3 separate regions of the Homo sapiens genome follow, and regions 2 and 3 are each linked to region 1. The links are contacts of gene promoters, found by promoter capture Hi-C in blood cells and fetal thymus (Javierre and others, 2016). All regions are on one chromosome and are shown on one strand. Each heading gives the region's core, a stretch centred on a gene start or on the middle of the fragment in contact. The rest is flanking DNA. Distances are from core to core; before and after follow the strand shown. Region 1 holds the start of ADAM17 (ADAM metallopeptidase domain 17). Region 2 has its middle 2.7 kb from the start of TAF1B. Region 3 overlaps LOC105373421 (a long non-coding RNA gene).

Region 1 (4,119 bases), core at 854-3,353:
AAAAAAAAAAAAAAAAAAAAAAAAGATAAACTAATTAATCTATCCAGTGCCCCTCTTACCATATTCCTTTGGCTCTTTATCTCCCCCACGTGGTGCTCTTTTATCTTAAAAGTATGCACAATTGATAAATGAAAGATGAACTGCAAATTGGAATAATTTGGGTCCTGATTTGTGAATTGAAAAGATTACTTGAAATTTGGAATGTCCCTGGAAATCTAGGACTTCTGGTTATTCAGGCCAGGCGCGGTGGCTCACGCTTATAATCCTGGCACTTTGGGAGGCCGAGGCGGGTGGATCACCTAAGGTCAGGAGTTTGAGACCAGCCTGGCCAACGTGGTGAAATGCCATCTCTACTAAAAATACAAAAATTAGCTGGGCGTGGTGGCGGGCGCCTGTAATCCCAGTTACTTGGGAGGCTGAGACAGGAGAATCGCTTAAACCTAGGAGGTGTTCAGTCGGTTGTAGTGGGCCAAGATCACGCCATTGCACTCCAGCCTGGGCAATAAGAGCGAAACTCTTTCCCCCACCACCCCCCCCCAAAAAAAAGAAAAGAAAATGGATCGGGATTTTTTTTTTAAACGGCATTTACTAAACAGCTAAGTACCTTCTATGAGCAAGGCACTGTACAAGAGCTGTTGGGGATACCAAAATAATACAATCTACGATCTACTAAAGTTACAAGCCGGACATTATGGTGACTGGATGTTCAGAAAAGAAACCAGATGACATTATTATGGTACACCAAAAAAGCCCCCCAAAAACCGTACTCAACTGTCACATTCTTATGGAATACAATTTTTACAGATTGTATACAATTTGCATGTGAAATTCTGCTTACTTTTTGACTAGGTATGCCACTAATGGGTATGTTTAATAAAGATATTTTATACTTCAGATGTACAGACCAGGTCCGGTTAATTTTAGCCAACAATGTATTGTTGAAAAAGACGCTGATATTTTACTGCGGCAAACCACCATTAACATAAATTTTAACCACAGTTTGAGTATTTTATTAGGAATAAGCCTTGAAACTTGAATAGGACTAGTATTCCTAACAATTTACCGTTTCATAATAAAGGCTGTCTCACTCTTAAGTGGAAAACGTATTATGTCCTACTTTTATAAACTTTGGTTGAACTAAATAAAACAGCAACATGTACCCAACGTTTTTAGACTGTTTTATTCAGTACCATAAACATTCACTAAACTATACAGAGCTAAAATCATGCAAAAGATTGCAAAACAAACTGCCTTGGGAAATTTCCAGTCTAAGCTAAATGGACCAAGTATAGGATTGAATTTTAAGAAGTTGGTGGGAAGATTCCAGCTCTTGTACTCACAGGTAAGGTCCTAGGATTCTATTTGTTGAAGTGTCTGCAGACCCTCTCCCTACAGCAGGGGCGTGGAGCAAATGTGCATTCAGGAAGTGCTTATTAGTCCCCCCAAAACCTTTTTCGTGACGACAGACGGATGGAGGCCTCAGACGACTCCGGCAGTAGGACCCTGAACCAAATGCCTGAGCTGCGCTCGAAAGGCTCGTCTCGCAGGAGCTGGCGAGTGGCACGGGCTTCGGTGGCCGGGCTCGGGGCTCGGGGCTCGGGGCCCGGGGCCGGGGGGGGCGGGGGGTCCGTGCCCAGGGCACTCTGTGGCTCGATTCATGTCCCCGCCCTCCCACCTGAGCACACTGGGCAGAGAGCCTGCGGCATCGGGCCAGTCGCGCCTCCTCGTCCGCCCTGGGCAGGTCGCTGGGCCCCAGGCCGCTTTCTACAGCTCCTTTAATAAAATGGACAGCAGGGGTCCTAACCAGACGTGGGCATCAAGACAAAGGAGGCGGCCAGACGCGCTTGAGGGCCTGCTCGCTAGCTCCCGCCCCCCCATTCCGCGGTCACCCGGGGACAGAGGCCAGGCCGGACTGGGTGGAGTTGGGACTCATACGTCTGCGTCCAGGAAGGCGCCGGGCGAGCCCCAGCTAGACGTGACGGGCGGGGCCGAACACGGCAGCGGACCAGAGGCCCGCGGCGCACCGGCGTGGGGCGGGGCAAGCGGAGCCTCCCGGGATGCCGCGCGGCAGCCGGCTTCCGGCTGTGGGTGGTGCGGGGGACAGCGGCGGCCGGAAGCTGGCTGAGCCGGCCTTTGGTAACGCCACCTGCACTTCTGGGGGCGTCGAGCCTGGCGGTAGAATCTTCCCAGTAGGCGGCGCGGGAGGGAAAAGAGGATTGAGGGGCTAGGCCGGGCGGATCCCGTCCTCCCCCGATGTGAGCAGTTTTCCGAAACCCCGTCAGGCGAAGGCTGCCCAGAGAGGTGGAGTCGGTAGCGGGGCCGGGAACATGAGGCAGTCTCTCCTATTCCTGACCAGCGTGGTTCCTTTCGTGCTGGCGCCGCGACCTCCGGATGACCCGGGCTTCGGCCCCCACCAGAGACTCGGTAAAGACCCAGGGGAGTTGGCTTAGGCCGGCGCCTGGAGCGCTCGTTTGAGGGAAGAGCAGGGGAGCTGGGTCTATCAGGTGTTTGGGGGCGGGGTATTGGCGATGGTGGCGCGTCCCTAAGTTTTCAGTGTAGAAGGGGGTGTGGCTCTCGGAGTTTGGGGAAAGAATAAAGGAGATGGGCCTGTCTCTGAGTGGGAAAGGGCTACTGGACGGGCTCCATGTAGTGACTGAGCGCCTGAGAGGGGTTTGCTCCCTAGCTTTGTGTTCGGGGAGGGTGTTGGGAAAGCGGTAAGGAGTAGGGTGGCTGGATCTTGTTTGGAGAGGGAGATGTGGTCAGGGTTCTTGCCTTAGTAGGGAACAAATCTAGTGTTGTGTGTTCCTACCAGAGCCAGAAAGGAAGGGCCCAAAGCTCCAGAATTCTTCCTGGTCCTCGAAGGAGGGAACTAGAATTTCTGCTGTAGGAGGTACTTATGCAGTAATCTCGTTGGGAGGCGGAGACTGGAGTTGGAGTCTTAAGAGTTGTGTTTTTGCGAACATCCTAAGCACGTTCTTGGTTATTTCAATTGTAGCTTATTGGAGGTGCTTGGGAGATGGGGGGAGGCGGAAACCTGGTAAGCCAACTCGTGATGCTGCCACTATGAATGCTTTCCTTGCACTTTTAAACAAAGAAATTATCAAGAGTGACGAGTTTGATGAATTTAGAGGCTAGAAAGTAGAGGGTTCCTATTTCATTAGATTTTCCAGAGAGATTGGATTTTAAGGATGGAGATGCATTAAGGGATCTGAACTTTGGTGGAAGTAAGTTTGCGTGAACTTTTAGTGTATTTTAAAATCCTTTTATCTTTCAAAAATTGACGTGTAAGATACTTTAATTAGTAATAAAGTGTGAAATAATGTTTTCCCAGTGTGTGAAATTGTAGGCTTGCATGGTTGTACTGGTTCCCAAATTTCACCATGATACCATGTGTAGTATTTTTTTTCTTTATATTTAGTGGACAGAAATTGTAATGGATTGGTATGGATACTAAAGGTGTTGAGAGTGTTATCACTTGAACAGCTGTCTTATGATTCTTTCCGATTGAAATGGATTACAAGTGACTAATGAAAGGCAAGGGATCTTGTTAGGAAGTGCTGAGAAGTGGTAAGTCAGTACAAATTGAAGGACATTTTGAGGTAGGATTGTGGTTAGGATGGAGGGATAGGGTAAGGGTCTTCATTTTAAGGATAAATGTTAGTAAAAAGAATAAATATGTATTTTGAGATATTAAAATTATATTTGCACCACCCTGACACAACTGTTTCACTTATGTTATTAATCTGTTGTTCGTAGGTAAAAATAAGCATGAGTCCCAAGGAAGCATACAGTTTAAAGAGAAACATTACTTTCTAGATCAATTCATAACATTTGCAGATCGTAAGGTTTTTTAGACCATTTTTTTTTTCCAAGACAGAGTCTTGCTCTGTTGCCCAGGCTGGAGTGCAGTGGCGCGATCTCAGCTCACTGCAACCTCCGCCTCCCGGGGTTCAAGCAGTTCACCTGCCTTAGCCTCCTGAGTAGCTGGGATTACAGGCATGTGCCACCACGCCCAGCTAATTTTTGTATTCCTAGTAGAGACGGGGTTTCACCATGTTGGCCAGGCTGGTCTAGAACTCTTGACCTCGTGATCCGCCCACCTGGGCCTCCCTAAGTGCT
Region 2 (4,119 bases), core at 514-3,013, 290 kb before region 1:
CTCTGCATAAGTAAATAACTGAATAAATAAATGCATGAGTGAATATAATTGAGTCTCAGTAAGTGCTCAATAAATTTAGCTCTTATTGTTTCTTCATCTAACACATTCATTCCTTGTTTTATTTATTAAACAGGAACTGGTTTGTGTCCTGGGGATTCAGCAGTGAACAAAGTAAACAAAAGTCCTTGCCTTCATGGAGATTGTATTCTGATGGGGAGAGACAAAAATAAATAAGGAAAATATGTGGTATGTTAAGTGGTGGTGAGTTCCAAGGAGAAAAATAAAGAGGAGAGGAGAATGGGAACAACAAGGTGATTTCAGTCTGAAATGTGATGTTCAAGAGAGATCTCATTGAGAAGAGGATTTTTGATATAATCGTACATCCCAAGAAGTTAGAAAAAAGATTAAACTGAAAAATAATGGGATGAAGGAAATGTTTAAAAAAGAGAAATTAATAAAAGAGAAAGCAAGCTTCGATAGGCTCCACAAAGGCTTGCTGTGGTGGCTGGTGCCTGTAATCCCATCACTGTGGGAGGCGAAGGCGGGCAGATTGCTGGAGGGCGGGAGTTGGAGACCAGCCTGCCCAACATATTGAGTCCTCATCTCTATAGGCTGGAGTACAATGGTTCAATCTCAGCTCAGTGCAGCCTCCACCTCCCAGGTTCAAGCAATTCTCCTGCCTCAGCCTCCCAAGTAGCTGGGATTATAGGCACGCGCCACGACGCCTGGCGAATTTTTGTATTTTTAGTAGAGACGGGGTTTCACCAGGTTGGCTGGGCTGATCTCGAACTCCTGACCTCAAGTGATCTGCCCACCTCGGCCTCCCAAAGTGCTAGGATTACAGGCGTGAGCCACCACGCCCAGCCTAAAAGATATTTTTTAAGAAGAGAGTCTCAACCAACTAACATTAGCTCTTTGAAAATACTAATACATTCGATAAACTCTGGAAAGATTGATCAAAAAGAAAAGAGCCCAGCTTGGTGATGCACACCTACAGTCCTAGCTACTTGGGAGGATGAGACGGGAGGTTTGCTTGAGCTCAAGGCTGCAGTGAGCTATAATCGGGCCACTGTGCTCCAGTCTGAGCAACGGAGCAAAGAAAATCAAAATAAACTGATATCAGTGGCATCACTAACCAATATGTAGGGGCATCACTGCAAATACCACAGACATTAAAAAGATCATAAGGGCATATTCTGAACAACTCTAGGCCAATAAATGTGAAAATTCCACCAATTTTTTTTTTTAAGACAGTCTTGCTCTTTCACCCAGTCTGGAGTGCAGTGGCACCATCTCAGCCCACTGCAACCTCCGCTTCCCAGGTTCAAGCAATTCTCCTGCCTCAGCCTCCTAAATAGCTGGGACTACAGGCGCCTACCACCACACCTGGCTAAGTTTTGTATTTTTAGTAGAGATGGAGTTTCACCATATTGGCCAGGCTGATCTTGAACTCCTGACCTGCCCACCTCGGCCTCCCAAAGTACTGGGGTTACAGGCATGAGCCACCACGCCTGGCCAAATTCTACCAAATTTTTAAGAAAGAAATAGGCCAGTCATGGTGGCTCACGCCTGTAATCCCACCACTTTAGGAGGCTGAGGCAGGAGAATATTTGAGGCCAGGAGTTCGAGACCAGCCTGACCAACATGACAAAACCTCGTCTCTACTAAAAATACAAAAATTAGCTGGGCATGGTGTTGCACGCCTGTAATCCTAGCTACCTGGGAGGCTGAGGCACAAGAATTGCTTGAACCTGGGAGGCAGAGGTTGCAGTGGGCCAAGATCATGCCATTGCACTCCAGCCTGGTTGATAGAGAGAGACTCTGTCTCAATAATAATAATAATTTTAAAAAGAAATAAATAACACCCATCTTATACAGATGCTTCCAAATAATGAAAAAAGAAGAGCATTTACCAGTACATTTTAGGAGACAAGCATGACCTTGACACCAAAACTTGACAAGGATATTTCAAGAAAAGTCAAAATTAAAAAGCAATTCCTCTCATAAACATACATGCAAAAGTTCCAAACAAAACATCAGTAAATTGAATGTACATCCTGTTGTACTCAGCAATATATAAATAGGATAATAAATCACAGCCAAGTTAGGTTTATTCTAGGAATGCAAGTTTGTTTAACATCGAGCCTGTAATCTCAGCATTTTGGAAGGCCAAGGTGGACAGAACACTTAAGCCCAGGAGTTTGAGATCAGCCTGGGAAACATAATGAGACCTCATTTCTGCAAAAAATTAAAAAATTAGCTGGGTGTGGTGGCACAGTCCAATAGTCCCAGGTACCTAGGAGACTGAGGTGGGAGGATCGGTTGAGGCTGCAGTGAGCTGTGGTCACGCCACTGCATTCCAGCCTACATGACAAAGCAAGACCTTTTCTCAAAATTAAAAAATGTTAAAAGAAAAAGTAGAGAAAAAAGAATAAAGATTTAAAAAATAAATAAAAGAGAAAAAAATAAATCATACAGTAATCTAGTGTGATGCAAGGATAGACCAAAAAATTGACAGAACTGAATAGAAAGTCCAGAAACGGACTCATAAGTACATATAAAATAATCTGATTTACAACAAAGCTGCTACTAAAATTCAGTGAGGAAAGAATAGCTTTTCTCCTTTTTCTTTGTTTCTTTTTTGAGATAGAGTCTTGCTCTGTTGCCCAGGCTGGAGTGCAATGGCACAATCGCGGCTCACTGCAACCTCTGCCACTCAGGTTCAAGCAATTCTCGGGCCTTAGCTTCCCAAGTAGAGGTAGCTGGGACTACAGGCATGTGCCATGACACCTGGCTAATTTTGTATTTTTTAGTAGAGATGGAATTTTGCCATGTTGGCCAGGCTGGTCTCGAACTCATAGCCTCTAGTGATCCACCCACCTCGGCCTCCCAAAGTGCTGGGATTATAGGCGTGAGCTGAAAGAATAGTTTTTCAATAAATGGTTCTGAATCAATCAGACATGCATATGAGAAAATTATTGACCCCTTTCTCACACTGTACACAAAAATTAATTCAAATAGATCCTACATGTGATAGGTAAAACCATAAAGCTTCTAGAAAAAAAAAGTGGTAAATATCTTTATGATTTGGTGTGGAATAGACTTCATCAACAGGGCACAAAAAGCACTACTCCTAAGAGAAAAGGTCATTACACTGGATTTCATTAAATTAAGAACTTCGATTCATCAGAAGACATTGTTAGGCTGAGCACAGTGGCTCACGCCTAGAACCTAGCACTTTCAGAGGCCGAGGTGGGAGGATTGCTTCAGCCCAGAAGTTCAAGATCAGCCTGGGCAACATAGAGAGATCCTATCTCTACAAAATTTTTTTAAAACTTAGTTGGGTGTGGTGGGCATGCCTGTAGTTCCAGCTACTCAGGAGGCTGGGTCGGGGGGATTGCTTCAGCCCGGGAAGTCAAGGCTGCAGTGAGCTGTGATCATGACACTTCCCTCCAGCCTGGGTGACAGAGACCCTGTCTTTAAAAAAAATTAAAAAAAAAAAGACATAATTAAAGCAAACTAAAAACTGAGAGAAGAAATTCACAATACATATTCGACAAGACATGTAACAAAGGTTTCCTACCGATCTATTAAGAAATAATAAACAATCCAGTTAAAAATAGGCAAAAAGATTTGAACAGGTATTTCATAAAAGATAACAGCTAAATGGTCAATAAATATATGAAAATGTACGCAACGTCATTACTTATCAGACAAGTACAAATTAGATCAGGCTTGGTGGCTCATGCCTATAATCCCAGGATTTTAGGAGGTCAAGGCCTTGCCTTCCACCATGATTGTGAGGCTTCCCCAGCCACATGGAACTGAATAAGTCCATTTGAACCTCCTCCTTTTGTAAATTGCCCGGTCTCGGGTATGTCTTTATCAGCAGTGTGAAAACAGACTAATGCAGTGCGTGAGAAGGGAGAGGATCTGCAGCACCATGGAGGGGTCAGCCCTAGCATAGAGGGTTCATCTGCTGCAGAACCAGGAAAGAAGGGAGAGCACGTGGGACAGCGCAGGTGCATGAGGTGGAAGGTCTGTTCTCTGAGCTTCATTGAAATGGAAGCAAGTCATCAGTTGAGAGTGGGAGTGGGGAGGGCTGTGGGAAGTTTGAGA
Region 3 (4,119 bases), core at 598-3,097, 260 kb before region 1:
AGGCGTCCCTGGGGAAGGGAGAGGCCAGGCGGCTGGAGTCTGCTTCCTATGGGGGCTGCCCCTGGTCTCCGGCCTTCTCCCTTCTCCTCTCCAGTCCTGCCCTCATAGGTAGCGAGAGGGGTCGAGGGCCTTTAAGAAGCTTCCCGAGATCTTCTGAATCCTCAGCAATCTCCTGCCCTGGCATTCAAGGCCTGCCTGTCTAGGATCCTGTCTCTGCAGCTCTGCCCACGTGACCGTATCCTTGGAAGAAAAAAAAAATGGGGATGCACAAAGTGACCAGCACAGGGTATTCGTGATGACCGGGGAACAGAGATTGAGAAAGCAAGAGCCTTCCTGGCAAATCTGGGTTCAGACGCGGCAGAGGTGGGTACTGTGCCTCCAACACGTTTTCACAGCTCAGTTCTCACGGAGTCCCCATCACTGGGCTGACTGAGCCCCTCATCCTGAAAGGCCAGGGGGCCTTCTTTAGCGAGGCCGTCTCGCTCTCCGGTGTCCCCCTCCGCCCTTGCTGGTTCATCCAGAGGGGCCAGGGCGCTTAGCCCTAAGTGAGGGGTTGACGGCGCCACCTGGTGGCACCGCGCCTCCATCGCGCTGAACGCTGCTGATTCCAAAGCTTCGGGGCTCAGGGTCTCTGATGGGAAGACCTCACTCTTTCAGCCTGTGTGTCCTGGCTTCCCAGGCCATGGCAGTGCTGGGGCACTTAAAGTACCTTTGGGCCTCCACACAGACTTCTAACTCAGGGTGGACAGAGGAGAGAGCATTCTGGAACCTGCTGGGCTGTCCCAACCCCATCCCCTGGGAGTTTCAGCACAGGATGCACTGGGACTGGCCAGGCCTTTGGAGGAAGGGCGTGCCCGGGGGTGAGACCACAGCCCCCACTCGCCACGGCACCCAGGGGTTCCCAGGGAGCCTGGGCAGCCTGTTGGCCAGAGCTTGGGATGGAGGCGTCCCTGGGGAAGGGAGAAGCCAGGCAGCTGGAGTCTTTGCTTCCAGGAGAACCACTGGCAGCCTTCCTGTGGGTGCTGTCCTGGGATCGGGACTGGGCCTGGGTAGCATGCGTCCTGCCAGAGAGGAGATGTGGGCAGAGTTTGGCCAGGCCACTCAGGCATCCCTTTCCTGTGGGCGGGTGGGCTTCCCTTCCTGAGCCCCAGACGTGCGAGATCATTGCCAGGACTTTCTGCCAGCAGCCATGGCAGTGATAGGACACTGAAAGCACCTTTGGGCCCCCACCAGGATGGTGGACAGGGGTCCTTGCCACCCCCTCCTCCCCCACGCTCCCCCCACAGCACTGTCTGTTCCCTGGACGCTGTGCTGAACCTCTGCTCCAGTGCTCGTCTTGGCTCCAGCCTCATAGAATCGCCTTCCCTTTCTTCCCAACCAGCTTCTTCAGCTCGTCTTGGCTCCAGCCTCATAGAATCGCATTCCCTTTCTTCCCAACCAGCTTCTTCAGCTTCTTCTTTCTTCTTCTTCTTCTTCCTCTTCCTCCTCGTCTTCCTCCTCTTCCTCTTCTTCTTCTTCCTTTTTCTGAGATGGAGTTTCACTCTTGTCGCCCAGGCTGGAGTGCAATGGTGCCATCTGGGCTCACCGCAACCTCTGCCTCCCGGGTTCAAGTGATTCTCCTGCCTCAGTCTCCTGAGTAGTTGGAATTACAAGTGCCCGCCACCACGCCCAGCTAGTTTTTGTATTTTTAGTAGAGACGGGGTTTCACCATGTTGGCCAGGCTGGTCTCGAACTCCTGACCTCAAGTGATCCGCCCACCTCTGTGTCCCAAAGTGCTGGGATTACAGGCATGAGCCACCGTGCCTGGCCTTCCATCTAGCTTTGATTCACCTCAACAAACGTTTTCCAATTCCCATGCCCTGGGCCTGGGCGACCTGAATCCGTTCCAGCCCTGTGAGCTTATGGTGATGCTGGAGAAGTCAGGCGGGTAAACAGATCCTATCAGTGAAACTGCCCTTCCCTGAGTCAGCCTAAGCCCCACTTCCTCTAGGAAACCGTCCCTGCCCCACTGTGCACAGTTGGTTTGTTTGAGAGCAGGGAGACGCCCAGCTCCAGTGGGGGCTCAACAATGCTGCCCTAGCCAGGGAGCAGACACCTCACTGCTGCCATGTGTGGAAAGTCAGGGGCAGGGGACTTCTCTGGGGTCTGGTCTGGGCCCCTATGTGTGGCCCCTCGCTAATTTCAGGCCCAAGTGGCTGGGGCAGGCACAGGGCCCTGAGAGTCTGGGGGCAGCTTCTCCGAGCTCTCAGGCTGTGAGGGCCTGAGCGGCCAGCCCTTCTCCAGGGCAGCACTGGGAAGGGTTCACAGGCTTGCCAGGTTAAGGCCCGCCACCTGCGATAATGGCCCGGATTTGGATTCTGCTACTACAAGCATAAACATGTGACAGGAGGAGGCCAACAGCGGCTAACAGAGCAGTGGCGCCCGGAGCATCTGCCGGGAACCAGCAGGACACACAGGAGGGGGACACCGGGGCTCCCGGGGGGAACTGGCCCGGCCGCCGGGGCAGGATAACAGGACTGAAACGGGTCTGCCGGTTCTCTCTGGCCAGCTGCAGGACTTCCCACCCTTTTCCCAGTCAGGGAGTGTGTGATACTGCGCCACTGCCACAGAGCACAGACTGGGGTGGCTGAGACTCCGCCATTTACTCCCTCACAGTTTGGGAGCCAGGAGGTCCAAAATCAAGACAGGGGCAGGGCCAGGCCCTCTGATATTCTGGGCAGAATCCTGCCTGCCTTTCCAGCCGCTGGCCTGGCCGGGAGCCCCCGGTGTCCTGGCCTGCAGCGGCAGTGCCTCGGCCTCTGCCTGTCCCCACGAGGCGTCTCCCTGTGTGTCACTGTCCTCATGTACCATTGTCTTCCTCTTATAAGGACAGTTGTATTGGATGACAGTCCGTCCTAATGGCCTCATCTGAACTTGATTACTCTGCAAAGATTCAGTTTCCAAATAGGTTCACCTTCACAAGTACTGGGGTCAGGACAAAAACATCTCTTTTTGGGGGGCACAATTCAACCCTGAACGGGGGAGAAACTGAGCTTTGGTGAGATGAGGGGCAGAGCCTGGCACTACGAGTTCCAAGCTTGACGTTTCTTTCCAGTCCTGAGTTTTAGCTTAAAAATTCTTGCATTTCTGCATTATTCTCTATTCTGAGTCATGTTTGCTTTAACAGGAAATACAGTATGATTTCTTCAAATCTTTGCCACTTCAACATGAAGAAACGTGTTTATCCTGTGGCTCCAAAATCTTCAATGTGTTTCTGAATTTTCTCAAGGGAATTTCTCCCCAATTAGAAAAGTATAAACCAACCTGGATTCATGTAGTTCTCATAAAAATCCAGGCTAGGCACGATGGCTCAGGCCTGTAATCCCAGCACTTTGGGAGGCTGAGGCAGGTGGATAACCTGAGGTCAGGAGTTCTAGGGCAGCTTGGCCAACATAATGAAACCCCATCTCTACTAAAAATACAAAAATCAGCCAGGCGTGGTGCACGTGCCTGTAATCCCAGCTACTCGGGAGGCTGAGGCTGGAGAAATGTTTGAACTCAGGAGGCGGAGGTTGCAGTGAGCGGAGATCACACCACTGCACGCTAGCCTGGCCGACAGAGCGAGACCCCATCTCATAAAAACAAACAAACAAACAAGCAAACAACAACCCAGTGAAGTATGCATAGTTAACAGAAGAGGAAATCGAGAGGTTAATCTGCTAAGGTCATACCTCATAGGTATAGGATAGGTATACGTAGGGGAGTCCACGTGAGAATTCAGTTCTTTTTTGGCTTATTGATCAGGTTAGGGTTTTGTTTTTTTTTTTGGAGTCTTGCTCTGTCGCCAGGCTGGAGTGCAATGGCACAATCTCGGCTCACTGCAACCCCCGTCTCCTGGGTTCAAGCGATTCTCCTGCCTCAGCCTCCCCAGTAGCTGGGATTACAGGCATGTGCCACCATGCCCAGCAAATTTTTGTATTTTTAGTAGAGACGGGGTTTCATCATGTTGGTCAGGATGGTCTCCTGACCTCGTGATCTGCCCGCCTTGGCCTCCCAAAGTGCTGGGATTATAGGCGTGAGACAACGCGCCCGGCCTGTTTTGTTTTTTACCATAAGTGCATGATGAGGGGAGATGAGGAA

Evidence for each region. The method cuts DNA at HindIII sites, captures the fragments that hold promoters and counts their contacts. A CHiCAGO score of 5 or more calls a contact.
Region 2: a contact is called between a fragment that was not itself captured here and the fragment with the promoter of ADAM17 in region 1, in 1 of 17 cell types (activated CD4 T cells). The highest score is 5.1, in activated CD4 T cells.
Region 3: a contact is called between a fragment that was not itself captured here and the fragment with the promoter of ADAM17 in region 1, in 1 of 17 cell types (activated CD4 T cells). The highest score is 6.0, in activated CD4 T cells.

The regions. Positions count from the first base shown.
Region 1 is chr2:9,553,814-9,557,932 of GRCh38, reverse strand. ADAM17 (ADAM metallopeptidase domain 17) reads left to right here and starts at 2,103. Exons shown (of 19, transcript NM_003183.6): 1 at 2,103-2,424. The coding sequence starts at 2,328. RefSeq lists silencers at 1,179-1,473, 1,445-1,664, 1,895-2,184, 2,799-3,093. The HindIII fragment of the contact is 10,331 bases long and covers 1-4,119 here.
Region 2 is chr2:9,838,745-9,842,863 of GRCh38, reverse strand. No RefSeq gene overlaps it. Among named protein-coding and RNA genes, the nearest start is that of TAF1B, 2.7 kb to the left of the region's middle. The HindIII fragment of the contact is 2,580 bases long and covers 474-3,053 here.
Region 3 is chr2:9,810,464-9,814,582 of GRCh38, reverse strand. It overlaps LOC105373421 (a long non-coding RNA gene), which reads left to right. Exons shown (of 3, transcript XR_007086206.1): 1 at 1-363. Among named protein-coding and RNA genes, the nearest start is that of TAF1B, 31 kb to the left of the region's middle. The HindIII fragment of the contact is 2,463 bases long and covers 616-3,078 here.